Linked DNA regions of Homo sapiens: region 2 is linked to region 1. The links are contacts of gene promoters, found by promoter capture Hi-C in blood cells and fetal thymus (Javierre and others, 2016). All regions are on one chromosome and are shown on one strand. Each heading gives the region's core, a stretch centred on a gene start or on the middle of the fragment in contact. The rest is flanking DNA. Distances are from core to core; before and after follow the strand shown.

Region 1 (5,480 bases), core at 1,429-3,928:
GGAGGACAGATGCGAGGAGGAAGGGGTGTGGGTGTTGGGGACTCCGCAGACCAAGCCAGGATAGGGATAGGGGTCGGCTTTCTCCTTGGGCCAGCAGAGATGCCAGAGCAGAATAAACAGGAGGATCGCTATCACCGCCAAGGTCAGGAGCAGGACCAGCACCACGAGCGGAAGGAAATTCGGCCAGGCCTGCTGAGGGACAGGCTCAGGGGTCCTCCAGGCAATGGAACTTGCTGGTGAGCTGCGCTCCTGGGAGCTAGGGGCGCCTGGGTTTCCAGGTGTGAGGGGGCAGTGCCCCTTGGCAGGGACCGGCCTCTGGGGATAAGGGGTTGGAGTAAAGCTGGAGGCCACACTCCACTCCTGCCCGCTCCCAAACCTCCCAACTTTATATCCTTTAATGGGGCCACATCCCATCTGATACGGTATCTGATAAGGTAGTTGGGCCCCGCAAGGCCCAACTACCTTAACCTAGGACCTCCCGACCCCTGCAGGCCAGCCACCTCCTGAAACCACGGCCCCACCCCTTACGTGGGGCTACGCCGGCTCCCTACATCTAGGCCCCCCACCTCCAGCACGCCCTTGCCCTGCCGGGAGTCCCATCTGCACCTCTCTGCAGCGCCACGGGGTTCTGCCCCCGCCCGCGGCGGGAGTAGGGGTCACGGCTCCGCCGCCGCAGGGGCTACATAGCTCCGCGCCGTCGGGGTTGCACTGCCCAGAAGAACACTTTCGGAACGGGGGCGTTACGAAATCGCCGTGGTCATTGAGTCCGCAGTTTTCCCGGAACTCATAGTCTAGCGGGAAAGCTGCGCTCCAGTGCGGCCGCCTAGCCCGCCCCTGCGCGGGCAACGCCCTCTCCCTTCGCCCTATCCCAGCGTGCCCCGCCCCTCCAGGACGCTTCCAGCCTATTAGCGTGCGCCCCGGTCTTGTCACTTTTCTCCGGGCTCGCCTTTTCACCCCCCTCCAGCCTGCTCCGCACGAAGCTCCGCCCACTCCCGGCTTCTCTACATAAAGCCCACCCTTTCCACGCGGCCCCTATCCCGCCTCTCCAGCCATATCCATTCGCTGTTGCCCTACGGTAGCCCGCACTATCTGCACAGGCTCTGCCTGCCATCCCTGTCTGATCTGCATAAGGCCCACCGCTTAGACCCCTAAGCAAGCCTCTCTGGCCCGTAGCCCACAGACCTCGCCCCTTCCCCGCTCCCTATCACCTGCAAGCTCCGCCCAAGCAAGGCTCGGTCTCGGATTCTCACCCGGGCAGGGGGGCGGCCCGAAGCGTTGCAGGCAGCTGCTGCAGCACTTGTTGTCTGGGTTCCAGTATTCAAGGCGGCCGCAGTACTGGGAGGCTTCCGGCGGTGGCGCCAGGGCCAGAAGCAACAAGGCCGTCAGGAGGCATCGTCCAGGCCCCATCTGGGGGGCCGTGATAGCGGGACTTCCAAACACAGCGCCTCTGCTACACTTTCCGGGGAAATCGGGCAGAAGAAAGGACGCGGTGATGTGGGGGAACAGAATTCTCACGCCTCTTCGGAAGCCGGGAATCTACCCCCGAGCCCTCATCCCCCAACTGAGCCGGTTATCAGAGAAGCCCACAAGGCCACTAGGGGACTAACAGGGCTGCGGATCTAGATTGCAAGAATGCATATCCCACCTCTGCCGTGTCCTCACCCACCCACCCTCCCTTTTCCATCCCTAAAATAAGACAATGATAGCACCTGTCTCATAGGGTTATTGTGGAGAATTAGAACCGTCATTAGAAGTAAAGCAGGGGCTGGGTGTGGTGGCTCATGCCTGTAATCCCAACACTTTGGGAGGCCAAGACAGGAGGATCACTTGAGCCCAGGAGTTCGAGAGATCAGCCTGGACAACAAAATGAAACCCCATCTTTACAAAAAAAAAAAAAAAAAAAAAAAACAGCAAAGCACTTTGCCAAGTGCAGTGGCTCACGTCTGTAGTCCCTGCTACTAGGGAGGCCAAGGTAGGAGGATTGCTTGAGCCATGAATTACAGACCAGCCTGGGCAACACAGCAAGACCTCATCTCTAAAAACAAAAAAAACTGGCCGCCGGGCGCAGTGGCTCATGCCTGTAATCCCAACACTTTGGGAGGCCCAGGTGGGTGGATCACCTGAGGTCAGTAGTTCAAAACCAGCCTGGCCTACATGGTGAAACCCTGTCTCTATTAAAAATACAAAATTAGCCGGGCGTGGTAGCGCATGCCTGTAAATCCCAGCTACTTGGGAGGCTGAGGCAGAATTGCTTGAACCTGGGAAGTGGAGGCTGCAGTGAGCTGAGATCGTGCCATTGCACTCCAGCCTGGGCAACAGGAATGAAACTCCTTAAAAAAAACAAAAACAAACTAAAGTGCTGAAAACAGCACCTCACATACAGTAAACTCAGTGTTTAAGTGTAAGGCATTACTAACTCCCATCACAATTCGGCAGGCACGGAGGAGTCAGCCCCATACTGGCTGGAGACCACCTCCCAGCACCTCACCTCACCTTTGAATCCTAATCTCCTTGGGGCTAGGGCTCCTCCCACCTGCCACAACCAGGTCTCTCCCCCTTGAATAAGCCTCAGATGGAGGTGCTAAGGTTTTCAGCACAAAGGTGTCCCCACCCTACCAGTACCGTTAGGGTCCTGGGTCCCAAGCTGGCCGTGCCAAGTTCCTCAGCTGAAGTTGTGGCCAGGACCCAGTCTTGTTTCCCCTTTTCGTCACATGTGTGGGTGGAGGGAAATGCCAAACCACAGCAAAAGCAAGTTGATGCCGAAGTGAAACACGCAGCTTTATTAAGACAGGGGCGGTAGAAGAAGGTCTCCATGCTGAACAGATTACATTATGGAGCCCGGGAGCCTGGGAAGGATGGGGCAGGAGAGTGAAGGGGGCTTTGAGGAGAGGTCCTGCCAGGAACATCTGTCCCTGTTGGGGGTGAAGGGTAAGGGGGCCAGGGCCTCAGAAGCGGCCATGCCAGTGATCAGGGGAACACCGATGGTTCCTCTCTCGGGGATGGTGGCCAGTATGGAACCTCGGGGGTGACCTGGGAATAGGAGCGTTGAGAGTTCTGTTAGAACCCTGAGGAGTGGTGCAGAGATCCTGCAGGCCTGCCTCTCTGCTCTGGGATGAGGCAGGAGGGTGCTGAAATAACTAGAGTTCTAAGACACGACCTCAGTGGCCAGTATCAGGGGAACTCAGTGGCCAGTATCAGGGGTGGCAATCCAGGCTGGTCGTGGATTAGGGGTTCAGGCTGGTTTGGGGATTGGGACTTAGGTACTGGTCTCCAGATGGAGCTCAGAACTACTCTTAGGGTATAAGAGTCTTGGGAATGACCGGGCGCAGTGGTTCACGCCTGTAATCCCCACACTTTGGGAGGCCGAGATGGGTGGATTACCTGAGGTCCGGAGTTCGAGACCAGGCTGGCCAACGTGGTGAAACCCCATCTCTACTAAAAATACAAAAATTAGCCAGGCATGGTGGCAGGTGCCTATAATCCCAGCTACTTGGGAGGCTGAGAAAGGAGAATTGCTTGAACCTGGGAGGCAGAGGTTGCACTGAGCCAAGACTGCGCCTTTGCACTCCAGCCTGCGGAAGAAGAGCAAAACTCCGTCTCAAAAAAAAAAAAAAAAAAAAAAAAAAAAAACAGTCAGCCGGGAGTGGTGGCTCACGCCTGTAATCCCAGCACTTTGGGAGGGTGAGGCAGGTGGATCACGAGGTTAGGAGTTCAGACCAGCCTGGCCAAGATGGTGAAACCCCATCTCTACTAAAAACACAAAAATTAGCCGGGCATGGTGGCAGGTGCCTGTAATCCCAGCTATTTGGGAGGCTGAGGCAGAGAATTGCTTGAACCCGGGAGGCGGAAGTTGCCATGAACCAAGATGGTGCCAATGCACTCCAGCCTGGGCAACAGAGTGAGGCTCCATCTCAAAAAAAAAAAAAAAAAAAAAAGATTCTTGGGAACGTGGTTACTGGGGCTTAGGGTTAGGCTCATCTGAGGATATAGGGGCCTTAGGACATGAGGAGACATAGCAGGCTGGTCCTGAGGTACCTGCGCCTGGGTCCCCGCCCATAGAGCTGCCTCTGGAGGTTCTGGGAAATGGGCCGCAGATGCATGAAGTTGCAGAAGCCACCTCGGGTACATTCCCTGCATAGAGGGTAGAGAGATGGAGGAAGCCATTGTCACTGACAGCCCCTACCACGCATTCAAAGTCTGGGATTCCAAGTGCCCATCCCACCCTTGAACTACCATACCCCATCTCATACTGGCGACAGCATGACTCCCGGAAGTCAGTGACAGGAGACAGCTCACCGTGCACAGCCTGCCCGTTGAACCAGCGGTTACTGAGTTCAGCCACGGCCCGCTCTCCATCCTCCTCCCTCCGGAACTGCAGGAAATGTCAGTCAGGGTCAGCAGGAGAACTCAGAGATCTTCAGGGGACTCACTACCCGCTCTGGGGCTGGACTGGATTTAGTGATGAAATTCAAGCTGAGAGCCTACAGTGGCCACCATCAGGCATTGAAACGCCTCCACTTCTGGGCCCTAAGTGGGGGGCAGCAAGCACCTTGACATAGACGTTGCCCACGAGGTGGTCCCCAAGGTTGTCGCACACATTCATCTCTTCAATCTCCCCATACTTCTCCTGCAGTTCTGTGAACACCTCCTGTGGAAGACGGGGAGGAACTCAGCTGAGCTCCCACAAGAAACCCCATCTGCCCCTACCAACCCTCACCTCGAAGAAGCTATCATAGTGCTCCTGCACCTCCACGTCACTCACATGACCTGGGGTGGGGGCGGGCAGGGTGGAATCAGAGTGTAGCCTACTGGGGGCTGTTCACCTTGCCCCCAGGCCTGGTCCCTTACTCACAGTGTGATCCGTCTGCAGTTTGGGCTGTGTTCTGTGGATTCCGGTACAGGTTGAGCAGCACTATGGTCTGCACAGAATTTAAAAGGGGCGGGGCCTGAGCTCAGAGGGCAGGGCTGCATGAACAGAGAGTGAGGCATGAAGGTTGGGGGTGGAACCTTACACCCCAGCCTAAGCATCATGAGTGCATCGGCGATCCTTTGCCCCTAAGAAACCAGAAAAGGGATGGAGGGGACTGGCAAGGATGAACAGCGGGATGGAAGGGACTGGCAAAGATGAACAGCCGCCGTGTGTAGCCTGTACGCATGGGGGCGCGACCAAGTTCCCGGGAAAACGGCACGAAGACCGGTGGGAGGAGCCTGCAGAAAGGTCCAATGAGAAAAAAAGCCGGGCGGTGGGGAGGGACTCAGGAACCCGGAATAGGCGGGACATGGTGACGACGGCCCCAGAAGGGGAAGGGCCAGGGAGCCGTTAACCCCCGAGGCTCCGTGCCGGGTCTCACCTGGCTGAATGTCGGCTTGTTGTGAAGCCGGGAGCACCGGTCCCCGTGCCGGCAGACCCCGATCTTAAAGTAAAAAGAGCAGTTAACCCTGGAAAAGGTGCAAAGACAAAGGTGAACCGAGGGCCGGGG
Region 2 (5,953 bases), core at 957-3,456, 3.6 Mb after region 1:
CAGGCACAAATAGGCTGTCCCTTTCTACCTCCCACCTTGGGCCTGACCTTAAAGTCTGGGAAGACAGGCATGACCTCCACCGGTGTGACTCGGGGTTTGCTGTAATGCTGTGAGATCTGGTGGAACAAAAACAAGGTGAGGAGGAGCTCTGCAGCCGCACCCTTGCCTCTCCCCATCCCAGTCCCTCAATTACTGATTTCTGGGCATCCTCAAAAGTCTTCTCAATGGCTGTGATCTGGCTATCCCTGTCTTTGTATATTTCTTCCTCGGTAAACTGCTGCTTCACAGAAACCCCAATCCTAGGAATGAAGAAAAAGGTCCTTAGGGGCCACTGGACACACCTAATATCTCCACCTTCCCTCTCTTCCTGTTAGTAACTTACTTGACCTCAGGCTTCTCATTGGAGATGCCATAACGGTTGAACTCAGTGGAGATGTACTCTGTCTTTCGCATCCATGGCACCACCTTCGCGTGCTGCTGGGATCTGGGGTGGGAAATCAGGTATCTCAGGACCCCACTGCCCTCCTGCTTGTAGGGCCCACCTGAGCCAGTCTCCAGTACCCATTTGCTACCCACTCACCTCTTGGAGCTGGTGGGGGCCTGAATCTCCTCTTCCAAAAGTTTCTCATCAGCTGGATCTAGAAGAACTAGAGGAGAGCGGGGGGCAGGAGGACCATGAGGGAGGCCCAGGCCTGAGCCTTTGCTGACCTAGAGCAGACCCTCCCTGTCTCCCCACACACCATTGGGGTCGATGCGGTAGGTGTCAGGATTGATGAGATCGATGGTGACCCCCAGGTCTGGCTCAGTCAGGAGGTCATGTTTGTGCTGTTTCTCCAAGGAAGTGGCTTTGTACTGGACGAACCTGGGTGGGGAAACACCTATTGTGGTGTTTGGATTCCAGCTTCACCCCTCACAGCCCTGCTTCCCAGAGGCGGAGCTTCTCTGGGGAGGAACTCAGAATGAAGTGTCCCCCATGGCAGAGTCTGAAAGCTGGCTCCCCAGTGGGAAGGGACTTGGACACTGCTTGCTCCATTAACAATTGAGCAGCTACTACTATGTGCTAGGGTAGGTACTGTGCTAGGCCCTGAGCAGACAGCAGCCAACGAGACAAGCAGTCCCTGCCTTCAAGGAACTCATACCTGAGTAGTTTTCCCATTCCTTAGTCTCACCTGTTCTGGTCGAAGGGGTAGGTGATGAACTTGGGGTCGAAGGGGATATCAGGGAGGCTATTGCAGTACTTGACTCGGCAGACCACTCCAGACCTAGGAACATTAGTGGCTCAAAAGTGGGCCCCCGCTGCCCCACCTCTGCTCCCAGCCCCACTGCCCCACCGCTCCTGGGAAAGCACAGTGGGGCTCACCTCTCAGGCAGAGTCCGGTGGGAATTGGGCCTAGTGGAGAAGAAAGAAACAGTGATAGGTGGAGAGGACGGGATTGACAGGAGAATGAAAAAGGCTTCCCCAACCTTTCAAAAGGTAGGAGGGGTGACAAATGCTGGTTTCTTTGGGTGGTGGTGTGGGGAGTGTCCAAATGCTTTAATGGAAGGAGACAAATGTTCAATTTATTTAGGAAGAAATGCCCCCAAAAGCTTTAATGAACAAGGCCAAGTGCTCAATCCCTTTTGCAGGAGATGGCTTCAAGTGCTTTAATAAAGAACCATGTACTCAATCGTCTTCGGAAGAGGGGTCTCCAAACGGTTGACTGGAGGGATCCCTTCTGGAGGGAGTCTCCAAAAGCCTAATCCCTGAACTGCACGGCGGGGAGGAGGGGAACACCTGAATCTCAGAAGGAACCCGCCCCCTTCGTCAAAGGTGAGCGCTTCATGACGTCACGGGCAGACCTGGGGGCTGGTGACGTTGTTCAGCAGAAACCCTCTCCCGATCCCCCGCCTTGCTGCAACAGAAAAGCGTGGCGCCTACCTGTGGCCATCCTCCCGCTGGGCCTGGGTCTGGATGGTGGGCGCCATAGCGACGAGGCGACGGCAGCCCGGACGGGGTCCTAGCGGGACCGAAGGGGGACGCAGAGGGGCGTGCCGACTTCAGGGGACGCCTGATCCGAGGAAGGCCCAGCTTGGCGCCGCTCCCCGCGGAAAGTGGGTTGAGATGAGGTGGGCGGGCGAGAAGAGCTCCAGCGAGACTCAGGTGAACGCGCAGGCAGCACCGGGGACGGACTCGAAGCTCCGGTTCCACCAACTGCCGCCAAGACGCTGAGGACCCAACGGGTCTCCTCAGGCCGCGACGCCTTCGGGGAAATGAAGTCCGGCTCGGAACCACACACGGATTGGCGAGCGTCTGGGTGAAGGGCGGAGCGAGGGAGAGAGGTGCTTCTGTGATTGGTGGAGAGATATCTCAGTCTGGACGCAGATTTGAGAGTGACGTAACGTTGGGGCACCTCCTTCCCCTCCATTGGCTTAATTGCCTAGGGGGCGGGACTAACTAGCAAACGGGGACTAGAAATAGGGATGCTGAAAAGCAACGGGGAGAGACGCAGTCGTAACGCACTTCCGGCGGTCTACGCGAGGAAGATGGCTGCATCCCAGCAGCAAGCTTCAGCGGCTTCCTCAGCTGCTGGTGTATCGGGTCCTAGTTCGGCTGGCGGCCCGGGTCCCCAGCAGCAGCCGCAACCGCCAGCACAACTGGTGGGCCCTGCCCAGAGCGGCCTCCTGCAGCAACAGCAACAGGACTTCGATCCTGTGCAGCGTTATAAGATGCTCATCCCGCAGCTGAAGGAGAGTCTACAGGTGATTGGCCTTAAGCAGCGAGAAGCAAACTGGATTTGGTAGTCTAGAGGGGCAGGCCGAGGGCCAGGTTAGTCGGAGAGAGCGCTAAGCAGAAAGAGGAATAGAACCTGCTGTTTTGGCCTGGCTGGTGCACGCCTGTGTTCCCAGCACTTTGGGAGGCCGAGGCGGGCGGATCACTTGAGGTCAGGAGTTCAAGACCAGCCTGGTGAAACCTCGTCTCTACTAAAAATACAAAAATTAGCCGGGCATGGTGGCGCGCGCCTGTAATTACAGCTACTCGGGAAGCTGAGGCAGGAGAATCGCTTGAACCCAGGAGGCGGAGGTTGCAGTGAGCCGACATCGTGCCATTGCACTCCAGCCTGGGCAACAGAGCGAGACTCCGTCAAAAAAATAAATAAATAAATAAATAAAACTGTTGTTTTCTGCGAGACCTAAGCGAAGCTCGGCAGAGATGGGATCAGCGCTGATGCTGAGGCTGGGACTGGCCGGAGCTTGAGTGAGGGGTTGTTTAAAGGAGAAACTGGGCTCTGGTCGTTAAAGCCTGAGGAGAGTACTGGCTTATACGGAGATTCTGCCCTTGATTGATAGGTGAGGGAGGACCCTTAGGTTATTGGCGAGAAGCTCAGGTGAGAGCGGGCCTCTGGGAGGATGGAGTGGTGACAGCTATAGGAATGGAAACGAATATTACTTTGGAAAGTCAGGAGGGAAGGTGCCAGTTGAAAAGAAAACCTGAGACTGAGTGATCTCAAGAAAGAGTGTAGATCTGCCAGAGGTATTCCCTTTTGTTTTTCCATTTCCCACGTGTTTTGTTTTTGTTTTGACTAGACCTTGATGAAGGTTGCGGCCCAAAACTTGATTCAGAACACTAACATCGACAATGGACAGTGAGTGCAGCCCCCTTTACCAGGATATTCTATTGCCTTCCCAGTCTTTGAAATTCATCTTTCCTTCTCCTGCTCCCCGCCCACCTCACCTTCTATATTTACTTTTTTTTTTTTTTTTTTTTGAGACAGGGTCTCCCTCTGTCACCCAGGCTGGACTACAGTGGCACGATCTTGGCTCATTGCAGCCTTGAACACCTGAGTTAGGAGATCCTCTTGCCTCAGCCTCCCAAGTAGCCAGGACTACAGACATGGCTACAGACTACAGATGCCTGGCTAATTTGTAAGATTTTTTTATAGAGACGGAGTCTTGCTATGTTTCCCAGGCTGGTCTCAAACTCCTGGCCTCTAGCCATCCCCTCAGCCTCACGAATCACTTCTCCTATTTTATTTTATTTTTGTTGTTGTTTTGTAGAGACAGGGTCTTGCCACGTTGTCCAGGCTGGTCTCAAACTCCTGGGTTCAAACAGTCCTTCCACCTTGGCCTCCCAAAGTGCTGGGATGACAGGCATGAACCATCATGCCCAGCCTTTTCCTTTTCTTTCTTTCTTTCTTTCTTTTCTTTTTTTTTTTTTTTTTTTTTTTTTTTTTTTTGAGACAGAGTCTTGCTCTGTCGCCCAGGCTGGAGTGCAGTGGTGTAGTCTCAGCTCACTGCAACCTCTGCCTCCCGGGTTCAAATGATTCTCCTGCCTCGGCCTCCCAAGTAGCTGGGACTACAGGCGCGTGCCAGCACATCTGGCTAATTTTTGTATTTTTAGTAGAGATGGGGTTTCACCATGTTGTCCAGGCTGGTCTTGAACTCCTGACCTCAGGTGATCTGCTCGCCTCGGACTCCCAAAGTGCTGGGATTACAGGCGTGAGCCACCGTGCCCAGCCTCCTTTTCTTTTTTTTTGAACCCCTCCGGTTTTCAACCACTACTTCAGATCTCCTGGACCTGTACCTGGTTTCCTGATGGACACTTGGTTGGGTAGATACTGGTGTCCCAAAGATTAGAAATCAATTCTTCAGACATCCTTTTTTCCTTGTCTGTAGAAAGAGCAGTGATGGACCCATACAGCGCTTTGACAAGTGCCTGGAAGAGTTCTATGCACTCTGTGACCAGCTGGAGCTGTGCCTGGTAAGAAGCCTTCTGGACACGGGGTAACAACAGCCGTGTCCCAGTCTCTGGGGTCTTCAGAAACAGTCAGTCAGTCAACTCACACTCAACTGGGGACCTCCTGTGGGCCAGACCTGTGCTTCCACCAACACTGAGGACACAGGGTTGCTCTGATCCTTGCCCTTGCAGAGCTTTCAGTTGAGTGGAATAATAAGCACACCCCTAAACAGTGACAGCTCAGAGTGGTCAGTGCTGTGATGGGAGAAGCCTAGGCCAGAGTGGTTAGGGTTATGATTGAGGAGGCACAGGCAGAGGGATCAGGGCTGGGATGGGGAAATCTCAGTGTGGAAGCCCAGGGTGGGGATAGGGAGAGAGTGGCTTAGGGAAGGCTACTGCTAGACAGCACATCTGACCAAGTCTGAAACAAAGAAGAGAAGAGGGGCAGGAGTTGAGAGGAGGGTAAGTGACTAAGAATACAGCCTCTGGAGTCAGATGCACCATCAATCTCTACCTCTGACCTCTGGGTTCCTCCTTAGGAAAACGGAGTTTCCAGGAAAACTTAGATTATGCGTGTAAACTGCTTAACATGATACCAGGCATATGGCAAATGTGTACTGTAGTATCATCATTATTTTGGACTGGTTTTTTTGGTGGGGGGGTGTGGGGGAGGACAGTCTCACCATCACCCAGGCTGGAGTGCAGTGGCACGATCTAGGCTCACTGCAATCTCCTCCTCCCAGTTTCAAGCGATTCTGGTGCCTCAGCCTCCCAAGTAACTGGGACTATAGGCATACCACGCCTGGCTAATTTTTGTATTTTTAGTAGAGATGGGGTTTCACCATTTTGGCCAGGCTGGTCTTGAACTCCTGGCCTCAAGTGATCCACCCGCCTCAGTCTCCTAAAGTGCTAGGATTACAAGCATGAGCCACTGCACCCGGCCTTTTTTTTTTTTTTTTTTTTTTTTTTGAGACAGAGTCTCACTCTGTCGCCAGGCTAGAGTACAGTGGCGCGACTTCAGCTCACTGCAACCTTGGCCTCCCAGGTTCAAGCGATTCTCTTGCCTCAGCCTCCTGAGTAGCTGGGACTACAGGCACGCACCACCACGCCCAGCAAATTTTTGTATTTTTAGTAGAGATGGGGTTTCACCATGTTGGCCAGGATGGTCTTGATCTCTTGACCTTGTGATCCACCCACCTCACCCTCCCAAAGTGCTGGGATTACAGGCGTGAGCTACCA

The links. Contacts are between HindIII fragments. The CHiCAGO score rates a contact against its expected background, and 5 or more counts as called.
Region 2: a contact is called between the fragment with the promoter of PAF1 here and the fragment with the promoter of IGFLR1 in region 1, in 1 of 17 cell types (fetal thymus). The highest score is 6.5, in fetal thymus.

The regions. Positions count from the first base shown.
Region 1 is chr19:35,739,774-35,745,253 of GRCh38, forward strand. It overlaps IGFLR1 (IGF like family receptor 1), which reads right to left and starts at 2,679. Exons shown (of 5, transcript NM_024660.4): 1 at 2,623-2,679; 2 at 1,251-1,450; 3 at 607-791; 4 at 1-315. The coding sequence starts at 1,407. U2AF1L4 (U2 small nuclear RNA auxiliary factor 1 like 4) reads right to left here. Exons shown (of 6, transcript NM_001040425.3): 2 at 5,352-5,439; 3 at 4,550-4,648; 4 at 4,239-4,372; 5 at 4,036-4,131; 6 at 2,754-3,030. The coding sequence ends at 2,946. RefSeq lists enhancers at 1-627, 975-1,084, 2,432-2,861 and silencers at 765-894, 4,197-4,357. The HindIII fragment of the contact is 10,043 bases long and covers 1-5,480 here.
Region 2 is chr19:39,388,900-39,394,852 of GRCh38, forward strand. PAF1 (PAF1 component of Paf1/RNA polymerase II complex) reads right to left here and starts at 2,207. Exons shown (of 14, transcript NM_019088.4): 1 at 1,919-2,207; 2 at 1,361-1,390; 3 at 1,170-1,262; 4 at 741-862; 5 at 581-647; 6 at 383-484; 7 at 194-299; 8 at 48-116. The coding sequence starts at 1,965. MED29 (mediator complex subunit 29) reads left to right here and starts at 2,479. Exons shown (of 4, transcript NM_017592.4): 1 at 2,479-2,739; 2 at 3,565-3,623; 3 at 4,654-4,738. The coding sequence starts at 2,524. It also overlaps a transcript of SAMD4B not described here. RefSeq lists a silencer at 865-996 and an enhancer at 2,534-2,823. The HindIII fragment of the contact is 958 bases long and covers 1,586-2,543 here.